3 separate regions of the Homo sapiens genome follow, and all the other regions are linked to region 1. The links are contacts of gene promoters, found by promoter capture Hi-C in human tissues and cell types (Jung and others, 2019). All regions are on one chromosome and are shown on one strand. Each heading gives the region's core, a stretch centred on a gene start or on the middle of the fragment in contact. The rest is flanking DNA. Distances are from core to core; before and after follow the strand shown.

What was found. The method cuts DNA at HindIII sites, captures the fragments that hold promoters and counts their contacts. A contact is called where the count stands out against the background at its distance.
Region 2: a fragment that was not itself captured here is called in contact with the fragment with the promoter of GPATCH3 in region 1 in 1 of the 25 tissues and cell types used here (lymphoblastoid cells).
Region 3: a contact is called between a fragment that was not itself captured here and the fragment with the promoter of GPATCH3 in region 1, in 1 of the 25 tissues and cell types used here (neural progenitor cells).

What each region holds. Positions count from the first base shown.
Region 1 is chr1:26,898,854-26,902,697 of GRCh38, reverse strand. It overlaps GPATCH3 (G-patch domain containing 3), which reads left to right and starts at 2,231. Exons shown (of 7, transcript NM_022078.3): 1 at 2,231-2,706. The coding sequence starts at 2,256. It also overlaps a transcript of NUDC not described here. RefSeq lists an enhancer at 2,167-2,286. The HindIII fragment of the contact is 3,671 bases long and covers 1-3,623 here.
Region 2 is chr1:26,704,038-26,707,881 of GRCh38, reverse strand. The region is part of intron 1 of ARID1A (AT-rich interaction domain 1A); the gene reads right to left. Among named protein-coding and RNA genes, the nearest start is that of ARID1A, 9.9 kb to the right of the region's middle. RefSeq lists an enhancer at 1-466 and a silencer at 3,590-3,844. The HindIII fragment of the contact is 8,241 bases long and covers 1-3,844 here.
Region 3 is chr1:27,033,443-27,037,286 of GRCh38, reverse strand. It overlaps LOC101928391 (a long non-coding RNA gene), which reads right to left. Exons shown (of 8, transcript XR_007065559.1): 2 at 3,694-3,827. Among named protein-coding and RNA genes, the nearest start is that of TENT5B, 23 kb to the right of the region's middle. RefSeq lists an enhancer at 1,880-2,381. The HindIII fragment of the contact is 4,027 bases long and covers 1-3,844 here.

The sequences.
Region 1 (3,844 bases), core at 982-3,481:
GCTCACTGCAGCCTTGCTCTCTTGGGCTCAAGTGATCCTCCGACCTCAACCTCCCGACGTGCTAAGATTACAGGTGTGAGTTACCACACCCTGCCAGGAGAGATTTTATTTGAAAGGATTATTGCAAGGGAAGAAAGGAACTATTGCAATAGAAGGAGGAAGAATATTGCAGCAGGGAGGACCCTCTGACCATAATATCTGCAAGTGACTCAAGGGTTAGGCAAAAAGGGTTCTTCTCTCATACAGAGGAGTAAACAGGGCAGAACTGGGTGGGAGGAAGTGGGATGATCAGGAGTGGCATGATGGGACAGTAGATCAGATAATGCTTTACCTTGAAGCCAGCCTATTCTCAGGAGAGGCTGTTAAGGAGGAGATGTGCGCTGGCTCAAGCTGAGGGTAAGCCAAAGTTCGGGAAGCTGGGGGAAGGAGAGAAGTTTTAACCAAAGTTTGTTCCAACTGATCAGTGGGGACAAGAAGTTCCTCAAAGCTTTCATGAGGAGATTTGGAATATGGAGTCTGTGTCTGGCTTTGTCATTGGTGAACCAGAGGGGCATACACCAGTCTTACCTAACTCACTTGGGGAAGGATGTTTTTTTGCAATATGCTGTGTTCCAGAACACAAAACAGTGGGAAGGCATTTCTTAAGCCTTAGTTTTCCAGGATCACAGGGCTTGGGTAAAAGTCAACATTATCAATAAGTCTTCTGATAAACATGTGCAGTCATTTTTTTTATTGTTTAGACAAGGGTCTTGCCAACTTGGCCAGGCTGGTCTCAAACTTCTAAGCTCAAGGGATCCTCCTACACCAGCTTGCCAAAGTGCTGGGATTACAGGCGTGAACCACTGAGCTTGGCCCTTTATTTTTTGCTTTTGTTTGAGGTCTCTCAATCTACAGGTTCCTCCTATCACCCAGTATAATGTGTAGACTTTGTCTGAATTATGAATCAATGAATCAATAGTAATCAAATAACCCAATTAAAAAACGTACAAAGAGGGCCGGGTGCGGTGGCTTACATCTGTAATCTCAGCACTTTGGGAGGCCAAGGCGGGTGGATCACCTGAGGTCAGGAGTTCGAGACCAGCCTGACCAATATGGTGAAACCCCGTCTCTACTAAAAATACAAAAATTAGCCGGGCGTGGTGGCACGCACCTGTAGTCCCAGCTACTCGGGAGGCTGAGACAGGAGAATTGCTTGAACCCGGGAGGCGGAGGTTGCAGTGAGCCGAGATCGCACCATTGCACTCCAGCCTGGATGACAGAGCGAGGCTCCATCTCAAAAAAAAAAAAAAAAAAAAAAAAAGACAAAAAGGCGGGGACCGTGGCTCACACCTGTAATCCTAACACTTTGGGAGGCTGAGGCCAGTGGATCACTTGAGCCCTGGAGTTCAATACCAGCCTGGGCAATGCAGTGAGACCCCATCTCTACAAATAGTTTAAAAAATTAGCCAGGCATAGTGGGTTGCATCTGTGGTCCCAGCACTCCAGCCTGGGCGACAGAGCGAGACCCCAACTCAAAAATAAATAAAATATTACCTACAAGTGCTGAGTCAAATGATGTGTAGCTTTGCTTTTACTAGATAACGCCAATTGTTTCCCAAAGTGGTTGTATCAACTTACATTTCCACCAACAGTGTATGAGAGCTTCAGTTCCACCATGTTGTCATCGACTCTAAGGTTTTAAAGTTTGCCAACATAGTGGATGCAAAGTGGGTCTCGCTGCATTTCTTTTATTATTGAGTTGTGCATCTTTTCTTTAACGTAAGCCTCTAGTAACTCATAGCACTTTCATTGTAAATTGGACCTGCGTGTTTCCTCTTTTGCGAAGTATCTTCGGCCCATTTTTCTACCGGGTTATCTTTTTCTTACCGATTTGTGGGAGTTCATCAACACATTTTGGAAAAATAAATGGAAGAACGACTAAAGGTTCAGAACTGAGGAAGGTTGAGATTAGGTGTGCAATATCCACAACTAAATACCTCAAAAATGACCCCTCCCGCAGGCTTCTTATTTGGTCCTCATGAGAGCTTTATGAAAGAACTCTATGACCCCATTTTCCAGGTGAGTTTTTCCATCATCGCCGGCTTCCCTCTGTGGGAAAGGAACACAGAAGACTTCGGATCTTCCAGCTCCAGGTTCCACAACCCCAATCCCAAAGGACTAGTTAGAATTTTCACAATCTCGCAACGCAGGGGCTGGAACGTTGCTCGCGGTGTTCTCGCGAGACTTGGTTCTAGCTGATCATGTGACAATCCAAGATGGCGGTGCCCGGCGAGGCGGAGGAGGAGGCGACAGTTTACCTGGTAGTGAGCGGTATCCCCTCCGTGTTGCGCTCGGCCCATTTACGGAGCTATTTTAGCCAGTTCCGAGAAGAGCGCGGCGGTGGCTTCCTCTGTTTCCACTACCGGCATCGGCCTGAGCGGGCCCCTCCGCAGGCCGCTCCTAACTCTGCCCTAATTCCTACCGACCCAGCCGCTGAGGGCCAGCTTCTCTCTCAGACTTCGGCCACCGATGTCCGGCCTCTCTCCACTCGAGACTCTACTCCAATCCAGACCCGCACCTGCTGCTGCGTCATCTCGGTAAGGGGGTTGGCTCAAGCTCAGAGGCTTATTCGCATGTACTCGGGCCGCCGGTGGCTGGATTCTCACGGGACTTGGCTACCGGGTCGCTGTCTCATCCGCAGACTTCGGCTACCTACGGAGGCATCAGGTAAGAGTGAGAAAGTTAATAGACTGGGCCTACGGGCCTGGAACAGAGGCACCTTTTCAGAGGAGTGGTGAGGATAAGTCAGGCCTCTGGTTAGGACTCTATGAGTTTAGTTCATATTCTAGACAGAGCTTCAGGCTCAACTTGCAGGGAGTTAGTCCAATACATGGAGAAAAATAAACCGGAGAGGCTTATTCGGAAGAGCCTTCATTTTGTTAGGTCCCTTTTGAGACCCTTTCTCTATCCAAGGGGTTGATTTTGCACTAACACAGAAAGAAAAAAGGAAATCCAGTCTCTAACCCTTTTACTGTCTTTCTCTCCTGCTCTCTCTGTGCTTCCTACCCAGTCCTTTCAGTAAGATACAAATGAAGAGACAATCTTTTCTCTGGACAGCTCCCACTTTCATGGGAAATCAGTTTGATGGGGAAACAGGACAGTGCAGAGCCCTCCAGTTCACACATTCAACAAATGCTTACATTGCTAGACCTAGTGTGACTAGCTGGGTATGCAGAGAACAGTTGGACATAGTGTGTGCTCAGAATCCACAAAGGAAGACATTTGGAAAAAGGTTATTGCCACAGAGATGTCATTCTAATTGTTAGCATTCACTGAGCACTCTGTATTTAGTAGGCGCTGTTCTAAGCCTTTTGTTTTCTTACCCCTCTCAACAGTCCTATGAGATAGGAGCTGTTGTTTCTCCCATTTCATAGGTGAAGAAACTGAGGGAAGCCGAAGTTATGTGACTTGCCTGAGGTTACAGAGTTAGTTAGTGTCAGAGCTACAACAAACCTAGGCATCTGTTCCAGAGCCTATACTGTTTATCACCAAGTGCTGTGAGATGACAGAGAAGGGAGAAACTAACTTCCTAGATGGATCATGAAATGTGGCTTTCCATCTGGGTCTTGAAAAATAAATAGGAGTTAATAGGAGAGAATGGTGTTTCTGGGTTTCAGGGTAAATGGCGTTTGCAAAGACACAGCTTTGAAAGCCCGTGAAAAACTTTCAGGGCATGTTAAATTGTTCATTGTGGGCTGGGTTGCAATGGCTCGTGCCTGTAATCCCAGCACTTTGGGAGGCACAGGTGGGTGGATCTCTTGAGCTCAGGAGTTCCATACCAGCCTGGGCAACATGGTGAAACCCT
Region 2 (3,844 bases), core at 682-3,181, 190 kb after region 1:
ACCTTGTCTACCTTGTCAGACAAACCCAACTCTACCTTTTACCAGCTATTTTCCCTAGGGCAAATTTCTTATCTTACTCTATTTCCTCATTTGTAAAAGAGGAAGATTAATAATAGAACCCACCTCCTATACAGTTTTGAAGATTAAATTAGGAAATTCATCAAGAGGACTAAGCATAATGCTTAGCACATAATAAGTACTCAAATGCATGGTGGCCATCATTTGAAAGTCAGGATCCTTGCCAGGCACAGTGGCTCACGCCTGTAATCCCAGCACTTTGGGAGGTCAAAGCCGGCGGATCACCTGAGGTCAGGAGTTCGAGACTAGCCTAGCCAACATGGTGAAACCCCATCTCTACTAAAAATACAAACATTAGGCCGGGCGTGGTGGCTTATGCCTGTAATCCCAGCACTTTGGGAGGCCGAGACGGGTAGATCACGAGCTCAGGAGTTTCAGACCAGCCTGGCCAGCATGATGAAACCCCATCTCTACTAAAAATACAAAAATTAGCAGGGCGTGGTGGAAGGCGCCTGTAGTCCCAGCTACTCGGGAGGCTGTGGCAGGAGAATCACTTGAACCTGGGAGACGGAGGTTGCAGTGAGCCGAGATCACACCACTGGACTCCAGCCTGGGCGATAGAACAAGACTCCATCTCAAAAAAAAAAAAAAAAAAAAAAAAAATTAGCCAGCCGCGGTGGCGCATGCCTGTAGTCCCAGCTACTCAGGAGACTGAGGCAGGAGAACCCCTTGAACCCAGGAGGCGGAGACTGCAGTGAGCTGAAATTGCCCCACTGCACTGCACTCCAGCCTGGGTGACAGAGCAAGACTCCGTCTAAAAAAAAAAAAAAGTCAGGATCCTGGTGAGGATCTGTGACCCAAGAACAGATAAACTACCTACAGAATTGTTCCCCAAAAGCTTTGTAATATGGTTCTCTTTAGAAGCCTAAATTCCTAAACAAGCACAATGTTAGAAATCTGGAGACTAAAAGCCGGTTATCCAAACCTAAATTACCAAGAGTTTCACATAACGCTAGATCAACCTGTGAACTCCAACACCTTAGGACCAGAACAGAATGTTGTCCAAAGGGCAAGAGAAAAAGACATACATATTTGCCAAAGAGACACAGTAATAAACCAATTCCCAGCATTTCTGCCCTGTTCTCTAAGGACAACAGAAAGCAACAATGTCTACCCCAGACAGGAGAAATCACTGGGCAAGAAGAGCCCAAAGATATATCTGTTTCTTCCAAAAGGAAGCATCCAACACTATGTGGCCTTTAATCCCTCTACCACGTGGCTGAATTTGCACTTTTCTTAAAGTCAAAGTACACGGCAGTTGAGAGTAAACAGCTGGGCCCAAAGGCACTCATGCCCGGCAAGCACGTTGTGACCTCAAAGAAAACATGAGCAAAATAAAAACACCAAGCACACACCAAATGGGCTTTTAATTGACTGATATCACAACAACCCCCAAGCACCCCTGGTGCTAGATCTTAAGGGGAAAAGAAGGGTTCCTTTTAACAGAGATGCCTATAAACAAGCAAGCTGAAAACGAACAAGTTTAAGAGAGAAAAGCATACAAAAATCTTGGCTGCTAGTGATGAGCCATGGAAAATCATGAATCTGCCAGTGCCAAGGGAGGAGGAAGTCTAATATCTAACTTTGCAGACTTGGGAACATAAAAGCAACAAAGCCATAAGGAAGCCCAAATGCAAAAGAGAGAAAAAAAGGCACATGGCACATTTCCTCTTCATATGGGTAGCAATTCAAGCAGCGCTTTGGGCCTGCAGAGCACTTAGCTCAGTACCCAAAGCCCCTTAGTATTTATATCAACATAACTTCCTGGAGGGTGACAAAAATCTGTCCTGGATTACTGGGTGATTTCTAATATGTACCATGACCAACACTAAGTCAACATTTTAGGGATCAAATTTCCTACTCTGCAGCATGTTGGAATGCATTCTTGGCATTAGACTTCTTCCCATTCCAGTCCACCCTTAGAAAATGCAGAAGCCACTGGGAAATAGACTCAACCTGTCCCAAGATAATATTCCAGCTATGCACAAGTGACTAACAAAAACAAACAGAAGTTCATTCAGATGTCCCTTCACATTCAGTAAAAAACTAATTTCATCCATTTAAATGGAGAGGAGGGGTAATTTCAGGAAGAATACTCAAGGCTACTAAGTCAATATTCACCCGAACTTGGATTCCTCTAAAACCTGGGAATGATCAGAGTTCAAGCCCCTAAACACCTGTAATCCATAGGAGGTTAACTATGGTGCCCAATTCTGAGTAACTGAAAACCCACTTTTGCAAAATGCCAAAATGGCAAGGCAAAAAAAGTGGAAAAGGTATTTCTAAACCAGAATGTTTATCCAAGACTCCAGTACTTTCAGCAGGTCATGGACCATTACTTGAGGGGGGGGGAAAAAAAAAAAAGGCTGGGCGTGGTGGCTCACACCTGTAATTCCAGCACTTTGGAAGGCCAAGGTGGGTGGATCACACCCGAGGTTGGGAGTTCAAGACCAGCCTGGCCAACATGATGAAACCCCACCTCTACTAAAAATACAAAAATTAGCCGGGCATGGTGGTGGAAGCCTATAATCCCAGCTACTCAGGAGGCTGAGGCATGAGAATCGCTTGAACCTGGGAGGCAGAGGTTGCAATGAGCCAGATTGCACCACTGTACTCCAGTCTGGGTGACAAAGTAAGACTCCATCTCAAAAAAAAAAAAAGGTCTGCAGTACTTCTGTACTGGAGCAGTGTAACCAATCCTTCTCCAGGTAGAAGCATTACAGTGGCCTGGCACTGGACATGCCATGCATCTTCAGCTGTTAAGCATCCACTGATGATCCTTGACCGGTGAAGTGCCAAGGCCCAACCACAGATCGACCAGCAGGTAAAGAAACCAAAATCACTATATTCCAGAGGCTCCACAAGGATTAAGCATTGGTGAGCAGCATTTGTTAGCTGCTTGGCCATAGTAACCTAATAAAAAACAAATTTTTTTTTTTTTTTTGAGACAAGGTCTTGGCTCCATTGCCCAGGCTGGAGTGCACTGGCGTAATCATGGCTTACAACAGCCTCAACCTCCTGGGCTCAAGCAATCCTCCTGCCTCAGCTTTCTAAGTAAACTGCGACTACAGGCACGTACCACCACATCCAGCAATTTTTGTGTCTTGTAAAGATGGGGTCTCCCTATGTTAATAGCCTGGTCCCAAGGCTGGTCCTGGGCTTGGGCAATCCTCCCACCTTGGCCTCCCAAAGTGCTGGGATTATAGGTGTGAGCTACCGCGCCCGGCCAAAAACAGTATTAAAGGCCATTTCTATGAATAAATGGGCAGACTGCATATGTGCAGGCTTACCTAACCCATCAACCTCAATATAAGGTCTAACACAAGCAACTTGACTTGAACACAGCTCCCAGCTCCTCAGAAATAGCAGCCTAAGAGTCCCAACAGATACTTACTTCGTGGCTCTTGTTTTAAGAAAGGTCAACTAACTCTGCCAAGACAGACTCACCAACAAAGTTGAACCACCATTACTACAGAGCTGTCCAGGGCACACAACTCTGAAGGTGACATGACCTTCCAAATCCAAATTTACTAGAAAAGTGCCCCTGAACTAGCCAAGAACTTAACAGTCTGTACCAAAGGCTCTACCTGACCACAAGAACCACTAAGACCCTGGAACCACTCTTTCAGGGAGTTTTATGGTTAGAGTCCAAATTCTCAAAGTCATTGGAACACTGAGACAGCTACTGGTCTGGAGATGGATGTGCAATGTGGATTCTATCAAGCCCATGGAACTTAAGAATAGCATTATGAAAAGGCAAATTAGT
Region 3 (3,844 bases), core at 615-3,114, 130 kb before region 1:
TGACACTTTACAAATTTCAACTCACTGATTTAAACCTCCTGAGATAGGTACTACTATTGCTCCCATTTTACAGATTAAAAAAACTGAAGCAGAGTTAAGTAGCTTACCCAAGATGACACAACTAGTTAGTGACAGAGCTGGGATGTAACAAGGGAGTCTGAGCTCTTAATCTTGGTGCTCTTTGGCCCTAAGTGCTTCACCCTGTTCTAAAAACCTTCCCTGCCCGCCCTGGCCAGGCTGAAGAAGACTCTGCTCTTTTTGTCTGTCATTTGGAAAAGGGCCTCCAGAAGTCAGTCCCTTGTCTTGGGATAGAAATGCCCCCACTGACCTTGTCCAGGGCCTCCCATCCCCCCCAGTCAGGAAGTCCTTCCTGTTGTCTGACTTGAATCTGGGCTGAGGCAGCAGTTCCCAGGGAAGAACCTCTTCAGCTGGGATACCTGGTGGGAGGGGCCTCAGGAGATATGGTGGAGGAGGGAGGGGGCTCAACCCTGAACTCTCAGAGAGTGGAATTTGGGGGGCAGGTTCTGGGCATCTGAGTGGTGGCAGAGCTCTGGGGCAGGAAACCCTGTTAGCTCCTCTCCAAAGGGATCTTGCTTTCCCCACCCCTCCATAACTGCACCAGCGACTTCTCAAACTACCTCCCAAGCTCAGATAAAAGCAGGAACGAAGGAAGTGACAGCATTGGACAGGCCAAGCCTGCTGCAAGACATCTGGATATCACTGTCACCATCAGACACCACATTGGCAACTGCTACCAAAGACCACTTTTCTTTCCTTTTTTTTTTTTTTTTGAGACAGAGTCTCCCTCTGTCACCCAGGCTGGAGTGCAGTGGCGCGATCTCAGCTCACTGCAACCTCAGCCTCCCGGGTTCAAGCAATTCTCCTGCCTCAGCCTCCCAAGTAGCTGGGATTACAGGCATGCGCCACCACGCCCGGCTAATTTTTTTTTTTTTTTTTTGTATTTTCAGTAGAGACAGGGTTTCACCATATTGGCTGGGCTGGCAAAAGCCTCCTTTCTAAGTGAATTCTTACCCTCCTGTCTTGGCATCACTCACTCCAAGCCCTGGGCTACGCCCCTTGGCCGCCCCAGGTTATGTGCCCATGTCCTCTCTGCCAGGGAGTAGGAAGAGGGGTCTGTGGTCCCCTCCAGCTTCTATAGTGGGCAATAGGGCCCAGATGTCCATCAAGACTCATGTAGTGGGGGCTCCTCCCCAAAGAGAAAGGGGCTTTGAATGTAATGGGAAGACAGGAAGGGCTGTCCTTTGATAAGAGGAGGAGTTCGTCCTCAGGAGTGAGGGAGGAAGGAGGAAATGGGCACAAGGCAGACAGAAAACAATGAAAGTCCTGCTCAGAGAGGAAGCCCGGGGGCCGGGATACACATAGAAGCTGGAGGAAATGCTGCCCTCTGTACCAAAAGCAAATCAAAGTTGGAGGCGCCCGGACCTCTCAACCCCAGGAGGCTCAAAGCCCCTTGAGCTCACCCAGCAACCTCTGCTGCCCCCCACCACAGGGGCACCTGCAGAGCACTAGCCCCTCTTTCATACTCTGGCCCAAATGTTGGGGGGAAGCTTGGCCCATTCCCTTTAGAGCCCGGTGGAGAGAAGAAACCAGGCTTGGACCTGCAAACAAGATGTTAGCAATGGCCCAGGGACAACAAAGGGGAAATAAACACAGACATGTACTATATATTCCATGTGCATTTATCTGGTACCAGCCAGATTCCAGGTACCACAGACAATGAGCACGCTGCCCTCATGGAGCTTACACTCTAGTGGGGAAGACCCTGAAACAAGTCACACTGCAGTAAACAAGGTGACCCATCAGTGCTGGGCTGACCACAACAAAGGTGAAAACATGGAGAGTAACTGGGGAGCCCCCTTTAGAGGGAAAGGTCAGGGAAGGGCTCTTTGGGCCAAGACTGGGACGATGAGTAACCAGACACGCAGAGACTGGGAGGCAACTGTGGGCTCCAAGTCCCTGAGGTAGGAACAAGCTTGTTGTGCTTGTAGAACAGAAAAGGGGCCAATCGAAGCTGAAACACAAGGAGCCGGGGGTGGAAGGGGGAGATGAGGCTAAAGTCATCCCGTAAAGAATCAGCATTTTATTCCAGCCAATGGGAAGTCACTAAGGACTGTCCTTTAGGCCTGGCGTGGTAGCTCACGCCTGTAATCCCAGCACTTTGGGAGGCAGAGGCGGGAGGATCACTTGAGGTCAGGAGTTCGAGACTAGCCTGGCCAACATGGTGAAACCCCATCTTTACTAAAAATACAAAAAGATTAGCTGGGCGTGGTGGTGCACACCTGTAATCCCAGCTACTCAGAAGGCTGAGGCAGGAGAATTGCTCGAACTTGGGAGGCAGAAGTTGCAGTGAGCTGAGATCGCGTCACTGCACTCCGGTCTGAGCTAGAGAGCAAGACTCCGTCTCAAAAAAAAAAAAAAAAAAAAAAAGACTGTCCTTTGATAAGAGGAGGGACCCAACCTCAGATGTGAGTCAGGAAGGAGAAGAAGAAGGGCACGGTGCAGGTAGGAATACAGATTACACCATGGAAAGGTGAGCGCGTCCCACAGCTGGGCTCCTGTCTCCTCAATGCAGCATGAGGCCAGGTCATCACTGCACAGTGGAGGAAGGGGAGAGTGGCAGGAGATGTGTTCATTAGGTCACATCAGGTTTCCAGTTTCCTGCATAGAGCCACAACACAGCCCTGAGGACCCTGGGCCCTAATTGGCCCTCATACCCCTGGGCACCTGGCCGTGTCCCTTGAGTGACAGAGGCATTTACTTCACTGGCCTCTTCTCCCCGTCACTGAAAACACACCAGTAACTGAAGCTTCAACCATCACAATCACAATGTCAACTATAGCCACAATCATAATCACAGTCACACCAACAGGCACAAGGGCAGGACAGGAAGTCCTCAAGGGTACCCTAACTTGGCAAGCCAGCAGGACCCCAGCCCCTTTCTGGGCCCCGTGGAAGGCAACGGGACTGTCCTGGAACAGGTACGGGGGGTGCTGGAGCCAATTCTGCACATCTCTTCACAACTTCACGTGTAGTGGCGTCATGTGGGTAGCCTGAAATTGACCATGGTGGAGGGCTTTTGGTTATTCTTTCCAGCTAGCCAGTTTACCAGAATCCATACCTCTGGACAGAGCCCTGAGGACAGTTAGAGAAGCTGTGCCCTCCCCGCCCCCACAAGTCCAGCTGCCACTAGAAAGAGCTGGTTGTGGTACCACTTTCTTGTGTAAGCACCAGGACCTTAAGTAGGAACAGTGGAAGGAGATGGCCAGTCATGTTCACAGAGTCCTGGTGGCTGAGCTGTAAGGTGGGGAATGTGGGTCGAGATGGGGAGTTCATCTGCCCTGAAAACCCACCCAGTGGTGAGTCAGAGACCCTGGGCCTCAGCTCGGGGACATCACCTTCACTCAGAGCCTCTGCTCTAGCCCAAGAGCCTAAGACCTGTGGGCTCCAAGACGCCTGCCTAACTCACCCTACTAGAACAAGAATCCTGGGCTGGTTCTGTCCTGGGAGAAGCTAAGAGCTGCTTCTCCCTGTTCCCTGATCCCAGGATGGGCCCTGACCTTGGTCATAAACTGAGCCTGTGCCCAGTGACAAAGATCTCCACCCAGGCCCAGAAAGAGCCCCACCTGTTCTGGGCTAGGCCTCGATGGGGTCACTCACAGAAAACGCACTCACCTCTATCTGATCCTGCCACAGGCCCCAGCTTGGCCCTAGACTGGAGACAGAGCCTGGCCCTTGAGCCCAGACATGCCCAGAGAAGGGCTGGCACAGCCTCTCTCACCTCTGTTGTCAGGGCTTGGGCCTCCTGCCTGGGAAGCAAAATAGT